Linked DNA regions of Homo sapiens: all the other regions are linked to region 2. Evidence: promoter capture Hi-C in human tissues and cell types (Jung and others, 2019). All regions are on one chromosome and are shown on one strand. Each heading gives the region's core, a stretch centred on a gene start or on the middle of the fragment in contact. The rest is flanking DNA. Distances are from core to core; before and after follow the strand shown.

What was found. Contacts are between HindIII fragments. The study calls those that stand out against the background at their distance.
Region 1: a fragment that was not itself captured here is called in contact with the fragment with the promoter of APOBEC2 in region 2 in 2 of the 25 tissues and cell types used here (IMR-90 fibroblasts and mesenchymal stem cells).
Region 3: a fragment that was not itself captured here is called in contact with the fragment with the promoter of APOBEC2 in region 2 in 1 of the 25 tissues and cell types used here (mesenchymal stem cells).

What each region holds. Positions count from the first base shown.
Region 1 is chr6:40,915,562-40,918,261 of GRCh38, reverse strand. All of the region lies in intron 1 of LOC101929555 (a long non-coding RNA gene), which reads left to right. Among named protein-coding and RNA genes, the nearest start is that of UNC5CL, 120 kb to the left of the region's middle. RefSeq lists an enhancer at 1-269. The HindIII fragment of the contact is 7,549 bases long and covers 1-2,700 here.
Region 2 is chr6:41,051,809-41,054,508 of GRCh38, reverse strand. APOBEC2 (apolipoprotein B mRNA editing enzyme catalytic subunit 2) reads right to left here and starts at 1,307. Exons shown (of 3, transcript NM_006789.4): 1 at 1,031-1,307. The coding sequence starts at 1,161. The HindIII fragment of the contact is 7,265 bases long and covers 369-2,700 here.
Region 3 is chr6:40,897,639-40,900,338 of GRCh38, reverse strand. The region is part of intron 2 of LOC101929555 (a long non-coding RNA gene); the gene reads left to right. Among named protein-coding and RNA genes, the nearest start is that of UNC5CL, 140 kb to the left of the region's middle. RefSeq lists enhancers at 1-326, 327-838. The HindIII fragment of the contact is 3,939 bases long and covers 1-2,700 here.

The DNA.
Region 1 (2,700 bases), core at 65-2,564, 140 kb after region 2:
AGGAAGGGGAGGAGAGGAGGGTTGGGTTGGGGGCCAAGGTGGGGAGGAGGGAATAGCATGCTCAAAGGCATGGAGGAGTGGGAGGACAGGGCTGAAACCTCTTTGGACCTGTGGGCCATTTATCCTGGCTTCTGTGTCCAACAGGGAGATCAAGGGATTGCATGTCCACCTGACATTATTCTCATAGGTCTGGTGCAACTTAACCCCACAACTATACTTAGGACCCTGTTATAGCTCTGGTATCCAGGAATTTATCAAAACCATTGTGAATCAATTGATTTTTTCCTAGAATCTGTGGATGCTAGCGTTGGGAGAAGCTTCAAGGAGTAGCTAGCCCCCTAATCATGCTAACCACCCAGGGAGCAGTTGGAAATGGAAATTAGCCTCAGTTCAGGGTATGTGGGCACTATTGATTGGGTTCATTGCCCTCATTTCAGAGCTAAGGAAGCTATAGCCCAGAAAGGGGAAGTCCGTTATTCATTCAAAGTCACTGAACAAATTACTAGCTTCTACTCAGTTCTTCTGGCTCCAAACCCAGTACTCTTTGCAGCACATAAGGTCTCTTTTTCCAAAAGAGGGTGATCTAGCCTCTTTCCATGCCCATGAACCAGGAGCACGGTCCCTCTTTGCTCCATTCTTACCTTTCCTCAAATTCAAGGGTGCACAGCCCTTCTTAATACTGTAACATCTAGGCCTGGTGGGGTGGCTCATGCCTGTAATCCCAGCATTTTGGGAGGACAAGGCGGGTGGATCATGAGGTCAAGAGATCAAGACCATCCTGGCCAACATGGTAAAACCCTGTCTCTACTAAAAATACAAAAATTGGTTGGGCATGGTGGCACATGCCCATAGTCCCAGCTACTTAGGGGGCTGAGGCAGGAGAATCTCTTGAACCAGGGAGGTGGAGGTTGTAGTGAGCTGAGATTGGGCCACTACACTCCAGCCTGGCAACAAAGTGAGACTCCGTCTCAAAAAAACAAAACAAAACAAAACAAAACAAAAAACCAAATACTGTAACATGTAGCTAACAAGCCCTCCTCCCCACTCATGACCTTCATAGTTGTATCACTCCATGACTTTCCTCTTTCTAGGCTGCCTGGTTAGGACAATGCCTGATCCCCTCCTTCTGCTTGCAGGGAAATGCCTCTGGGCCTCAAGGTCATGTGAACCATCCCTTCTCCACCTCCTGCAGCTCCCTTCTCTCCACTGAGAAAATGCATCTAAGTAAGGCATTCTGGCTAGAGTAAGGAGAAGTGGCAAATTGGGAAGGAATCCAGGGCTCCAGCTCTTTTCCATAAATCAGCTCAGAAGTTCCCCAGAGCAAATCCTTCTTGACTCTGGTCTCATCTTCTTTATCTGGCAATGGCAGGCACTAGGAGAGTCTGAACTACATGACCTCTAGCCCCTCCAGACGTGGGGGCCGATGGGACTCATTTTCTGTGAGTCTGCAAGTAAAGGGACGATGGGGACCAGCTACCGTAGATGAAACCTGCCGTTCTCAGTCTTGACCCACATGCCTGGGAACTGGGGCATGATGGAGACCAGAACTTGAATGTCATGACAGAAGCTGGGAAAAGAGGCAAATAAACCAACATGGACTGCAAAGAGCTTGTGGGCCATTTGCCACTTGTTTTTCTGTTTTTCCACCTATCAGTCTGTACACTTGCTTTGGCATTTATGTGGTTTCAGAAGGCTATTATCTTGTCAACATTGTTCTACAGCATTGACATTATCTCTTAATTACACAATTACTTTGTTATGTACTGTAGATCTAGTAATAAAACATTTGAAGTGTTCAAGCACAGACAAGAATTTTTAAAATATGATTTGAGTCAAACCATCTTGTAAAAACCACTAATAAATGTCATAACCAGAGGAGACCTCTGTTCATTCCCCCACTGAGAGGAAGAAGAGCTAAGGCCCAGGGAGAAGGGACCTGCTGCTGGTCACACGGATAATTACTAGAATGAGTTTTGCAGACATGAGAGCTCACTGCAGATCATACAGCAACTGAGAGCAGAGTTGGGACTAAAGCTCAGGCCTGACGATTCCTGGGTTACTGCATTTTTTCTTTTTCATAAATAGGTTATACCCTTTTCTCCACCATGTCACCCTGAAGGTCTGTTTAGGTCACACAGTTAACCCTGAGTTGGGGAGCCAATCCCCAAAGCACTGGATTACTCTAAGGGTCAGGTCCCACTTCTCCTAGATGCTTAGTGGGTTAAGGAACATGATAAAGCCCCACTGGGCTAAATCTGTCCTCCATATTAAAGAATTTTGTCTCAAGAAGCTCCCATTTATTAAGAAGCAAATGGCCAGTTGGCACATGAAACTATTTGTGCTGTTGGCAATGACTAGTTTATTAGCCAGGAAATTCAGCCTGAGTTTATGGCACACAGGACTGGTGATGATGGTGGCTGAGGGAGCAGGAGGGAGAAGATACACAAAGTGGATGACCTGGGAAAGTCAGGCTGACTTGCAGTACAGATGGGGAATTTTGGAGCTGGAAGCATCCTGAGAATAGTCTGAAGGACTCCCCAAAGGGACAGGATCTACCCTTTGATGAAATTCACTCGTTTTCCATTGCTTGTGATCCAAGTCTAAACTGAGCAGGGCTGGCACTTGTCATAAGTCCCCTGCAGTGACTATGGAGAGCCCTGCAGATCTGTTACTTTCTATCTCTGAGCTTGGAGACATCCT
Region 2 (2,700 bases), core at 58-2,557:
GAAAATCACTTGTCAAGCTTGAAATATCAAGTCCAAATTGCCACTCAGGGCTTCCTTTCCCCCTTGAAAGCATCATGCCTCCTTTCTTCCTGAAACTTCTCTTAGTCTCGCACCCACTCTGCCTGTGGTCATTCCTGGAGACCCCATGAAGGGAACGTTTGGTTCAAGGAGGAAATATGGCCTCATAGATTCTCTTTTTATTCTTTGCTCAGGATTTAGAAGGGTCTTCCACTACAGGAATAGAAAGGGAAGAGGAAGAAGACTACTTAGTTTTATTCCTGGAGATGGCATAATCTGGATAAGACAGAGGTACCCTGCACACAGCCCCCTCCTTGCAGTCTGTAGACCCTTTTCTTTGGGTCCCAGTTCCTCCAGGCAATGCCTGAGCATGTTGGAACAGCTCCTGTGTCCATAAGCTCCTGGGCTGCGTTATCTGCATGTAATTTCTCTGTTTCTCTGTGGGACAGCCCCTGAGGAGACTCAAAAGATTTAATAAGAAAAAAGCTGCTTCTGAGTCTTGGGAAAGGATGGATCTATCTTTCCTGTCTTGGGAGCATCTACTCCAGGAAGAAGCTCTAAAGAAAGGGCTAGAGGCCTATGGCTAGCGGAGAGACCCACTCAGGAACAGAGAAGTTGAGGGGAAGGGTTGCTTTGAACGGAGCCACATATAGATGTGCCAGTCTCATCCTCTGTCCTCGCCAAACTCCCTGGGACTAAGCTTCTACCCAGAGAGGCAGGTGGCCATCCCAATACCAGGAGGCCTGAAGGGTGGTTTTATTCTCTGGGCTTTTGCCTCCAAGGAGCTCCTCCTACCTCTCCCTGATTAGAGAGCCCAAGGTGTCACCCTGAGAAGCCAAGAGAATTTGCTGCTGGGTCCCCTACCACCCCTGCCGGGCCCACTGGTGCACTCTCACTGCTGCAGGGTTGTAGCTGTCCCTGACGCCTAATATAACCATCCTGAATTTCCACAGCCTAACCCAAGGCTGCACTCTTCTAGGGAGCAGAACCCTGACCCACATCTGAGGCTTACCCTGTGACAATCTCAAAGGGCGGCAGCTCAATCAGCTCTTTCAGCTTCTCAGGGTCGTCCAGGTTCTCCAGATCCTCCCCATTCTGGGAGGCAGCCTCAGTGGCCACAGCAGCCTCTTCCTTCTGGGCCATGGAGGGGCTGTGGCTCAGGAGTCACTGAGGGAGAGGAGAGAGGCAGGCAGGTCTGGGCCAGGCCCTGGCGGCAGAGTCCCAAGCAGCTGTCAGCAGCTAAATCTGGCTGGGGATGACGGGAAAAGGACCCAGCAGGCCAGGCTTCGTGCTTTCCCCACTTAGCCACAGGCTTTATAGCCAAGGCCTCCTGCCCCTCCCCCAGGCTCTCTCCCTCTATCTTTTTTTAATTGAGTGACAGCGGGTGCTGGGGTGGGGGAATGGAAAATCTGGCCATTAGTATCCCCTATTTATCAGTAGGCAAAGACAGGAACCTGGCAGGTGGGTATGGCTTGGCCTGCTCTCTTCTCCCTCTCCCTCTCAGCTCACCTTATGTTCTCCCCTTTGTTTCCCACCCAAATTCCCTAGCTCCACTGGGGGAGAGTGTGGAAGGGGCCCCAGGGCAGGCATCCTGAGATTTAGGAGGGTGGCCTTCTGAGATTTAAACAGGAGGAGATGTGTGTTGAAAGGGGCTGACTGCAAAAAGACCCAGGCCATTTGCTTTGGGGGAACGTGGGTTCAGGAAAGGAGGGGTCCTGGCAGAGGTGGGATCAAAACTGACAATTTGGGGAGTAAGTGTGTGAGTTATGACTCAAAAGCGGTGGGTGCTGATTTGCCTGTTACAAAGCCATAATGTAATGTCAAATCGATCAGGAGCCTCCCTGAGTAACAATAGCTGCCATTTACTTAGCTCAGAGATTTTGAAACAGGCCAGGCAGTGGGTTTAGGGGTTTAAATGAAATCAGATGCATGCTTGCCACAGCCATGGGAGGCGATGTGTATTATCCCAAGTTACAGGTAAACTGAGTCACAGAAGTGTGCAGAGCCGGGATTAAAATGCAGGCTTTTGTACTTCAGGCCAAATATTCAACCTCCATGCTATGTGCCCTCACAGTCAGTCTTTTATTCTTCTTAACAAATATTTATTGAGTATCTACTCTATGCCAGGTGCTGTTTCAGGTACTGGGAATATGGCAAAAGAACAAAGCAAATGAAAATCCCTGCTGTGATGATTTGTGGAGCTTGAGGAACTGAACAACAAATAAGGTAAGTAAAATACATGGTCTATTTTGTGATGACAAGTGCCAAGGAGAAAAGACAGGAAATGGAAACAGGAAGTGCTAAGAGGTGGGGTTACGTACTTATAGGATGGCCAGGGTGAAGGACTTTGAAAAGGAGACAATTGAAGAAGACGTGAAGAAGGCAAGGGAACTAATCATTTGGTTGTCTAAGAGGAAAGCGTTCCAAGGAAGGGAACAACGTGAGCAAAGGCTCTGAGAAGGGAGCATTCCTGGGGTGTTTGAGGAACTAGCGAGGACATACATCTGGGTGACTGAAGAGTTCTAAGAGATTAAGCCAGAGAGATAACAAGGGTAAAAGGGACTGGGGCCTTATGGGCTGTCATAAGTACCTTGCTTTTTCTCAGACTGAGGTGGGAAGCCATTGTCTCTGAACAGGTGAGACAGGTGGTCTGAGCACTTGGGAAGAGCAGAGGCAGGGGAC
Region 3 (2,700 bases), core at 160-2,659, 150 kb after region 2:
GATGAGATTTAGTTAGCAGATAGCCCTGAGAAAGACTTCAGTTCATACTCACATGCAATTGACTAAGATGTTTCTGAGTGCAGAACACAGACTTTTAGTTGAGAAATTGAAGTGAACATTGAACTAATGTATAATTTCCTAAAGGGTCCCACAAAGGATGACTAGGGACAGTAAAAGGGAGCCAGGGAAGCCTCAGAGTAGGACTCAGAGGTCCTTATTACTTGGCCAATGGTTGGCCTGCCCCATCAGGTGCCTTAGAGCCCACGCCAATGCCCCTGGACTCATGAGTGACCCCCGTGGCCTTATCTGAGTGGCTGATCTGACAGAGCAAGGTGTGTGCTTTGCGCCTGCTGAGTTACTGCCAGCTGCCTGTGGTGGATAAACAGGCAGGCCTCTGGGCGGCCCTCAGGACTCTATAGTGAACAAAGAAAGTCGTTCAGATGTTTTCAGATTGTATTGAGTTAAATCAAAGGCCAAGAGAGCAGAGGTCTTTGCAGTTCTTTGTTGTAGAGGGTGGCCCCTGGGCGAGTCCCTTATCATACTCTCTTCTATTTAGATGTGTTTCTTTGAACCTTCCCGCAGAAAGTGATGCCCTTTGACAGGCTCCCTCAGCTTGCCAAGGATAAGCAGTGTGCAGTTGTGAGGGATTCCCAGGGTCTCTTCTCCCATAACATTTATTGTCAGTCCTGCCTACCTGAAACTTCATCTTTTCTTGTACTCAAAATAGAGAAAGTGGGTGCCTAAGTGAACCCACTGAGCCCAGCCCCCTCAATGAGGAAACTGAGGCTCAAGAAAATGAAACTTTCTTCATATTCATGTAGTGCTTTGAGTTCATCCTGTTTTGCCACATATGCTCACGTGGTTTTCCATTTCCTTCATTAAACAGCCCTTTATGAAGGGCCTACTGTGTGCCAGGCACCGTTTAGGCATTGGATGGGTGTATGGGTTTGGCTGCAAGTTACAATACTCAGCCAGTAGTGGCCTAAACTCTTACCAGAAAGGGGTCCCAATCCAGACCCCCAAGAGAGGGTTCTTGGATCTCGTGCAAGAAAGAATTCGAGGCAAATCCACAGAGTAAAGTGAAAGCAAGTTTAATAAGAAAGTAAAGGAATAAAGAATGGCTACTCCATAGGCAGAACAGCCCTGAGGACTGTTGGTTGCCCATTTTTATGGTTATTTCTTGATTATATGCTACCAAGGGGTGGATTATTGATGCGTCCCCTTTTTACACCATATAGGGTAACTTCCTGATGTTGCCTTGGCATTTGTAAACTGTCATGGCACTGGTAGGAGTATAGCATTGAGGATGACCAGAGGTCACTCTCATCGCCATCTTGGTTTTGGTGGGTTTTAGCCAGCTTCTTTACTGCAGCCTGTTTTATCAGCAAGGTCTTTATTACCTGTATTTGTGCTGACCTCCTATCTCATCCTGTGACTTAGAGTGCCTAACTGTCTGGGAATGCTGCCCGGTAGGCCTCAGCCTTATTTTACCCAGCCTCTATTCAAGATGGAGTTGCTCCAGTTTAAACACCTCTGACAAAACAATGCAGGCATTCATTATCTCATCTAAAATAAGAAAGAAGTCCAGGGCTGTGGTCCTTAGAGGCTGTAGGGTCCACAGCTCAGCAGTGCCATCAAGAACCATTCTTGGTGGGTCAGTGATATCTCCCCTCAGATGGCAAGATGGCCATCATAGCCCCCAACAACATCCTAATGCTCAAAGACAGAAGCAAGACAGAACAGGGACCTTCACTTTGCTCTTTTTTTTTTTTTTCCATAGGGGAAGAACACCTTTCCTAGAAGTGCCCAGGTGCCTTCTTATTATAACCCAGTGACCATATCTGGATCACATGCCTGTTTCTAGACCAGTCACAGGCAAACCAGAATGGGATGCCATAAATGGCTGCCTTGGGCCAATTGTGATGTGCTGTTCATGGGAAAAGCAGTGAGTCTATCATGTCCACTAAGAGCACAGGCTCTGGAGCCCGATGGCCACAGTTCAAATCATGGCTCCATCACTTCTGATTTATATAACCCTGGGCAAGGAGCTTAACCTTTTGTTCCTCAGTTTTCCCATCTGTAAAATGGTGATAATGATACTTCACAGGTTGATGTAAGGATTAAATGTTTAATGTACATAAGGTGCTTAGCACAGTACTTGGCTCACAGTAAAGGTTAACTACTAATTATCTATTGTATATTTCAAAGGAGCTAGAAGACAGCAATTCAAATGTTTCTAGCATGAAGAAAAGACAAATATTTAAGGCAATATATATCCTGAGTATGATGATTTGATCTTTACAAGTTATTCAAATGTGTTAAATGATCACATGTATCCCCAATGTATGTACAACTATTATGTATCAATAAAAAATAAAATTTCAAAAAGTTAAAAAAAATAACGATCATCCTCAAGACTGAGCAATTTCTTGCCTGAATAAAATCAGGAAAAGGTCCTAGGTTTTGGATGGACAACTCCAGTGCCTGCCATGTGCGGTTGCCCTCCGGTTCACAGACAAGTAAACAAGCAATGTTGAAATCTTGTGCCATGGTACTAGATACTGTGCGCCGCCCCCCTCAACAGGAGGGGTGCCTGGTCCAGACTTGGGGGATGTCAGAGAAGGCTTCTCAGAGGAGGTGGCACTGATGTAGGTTTTCAAAATATATAGCAGTGGCTCGGCAAAGGCAGAGTGTGGGTGG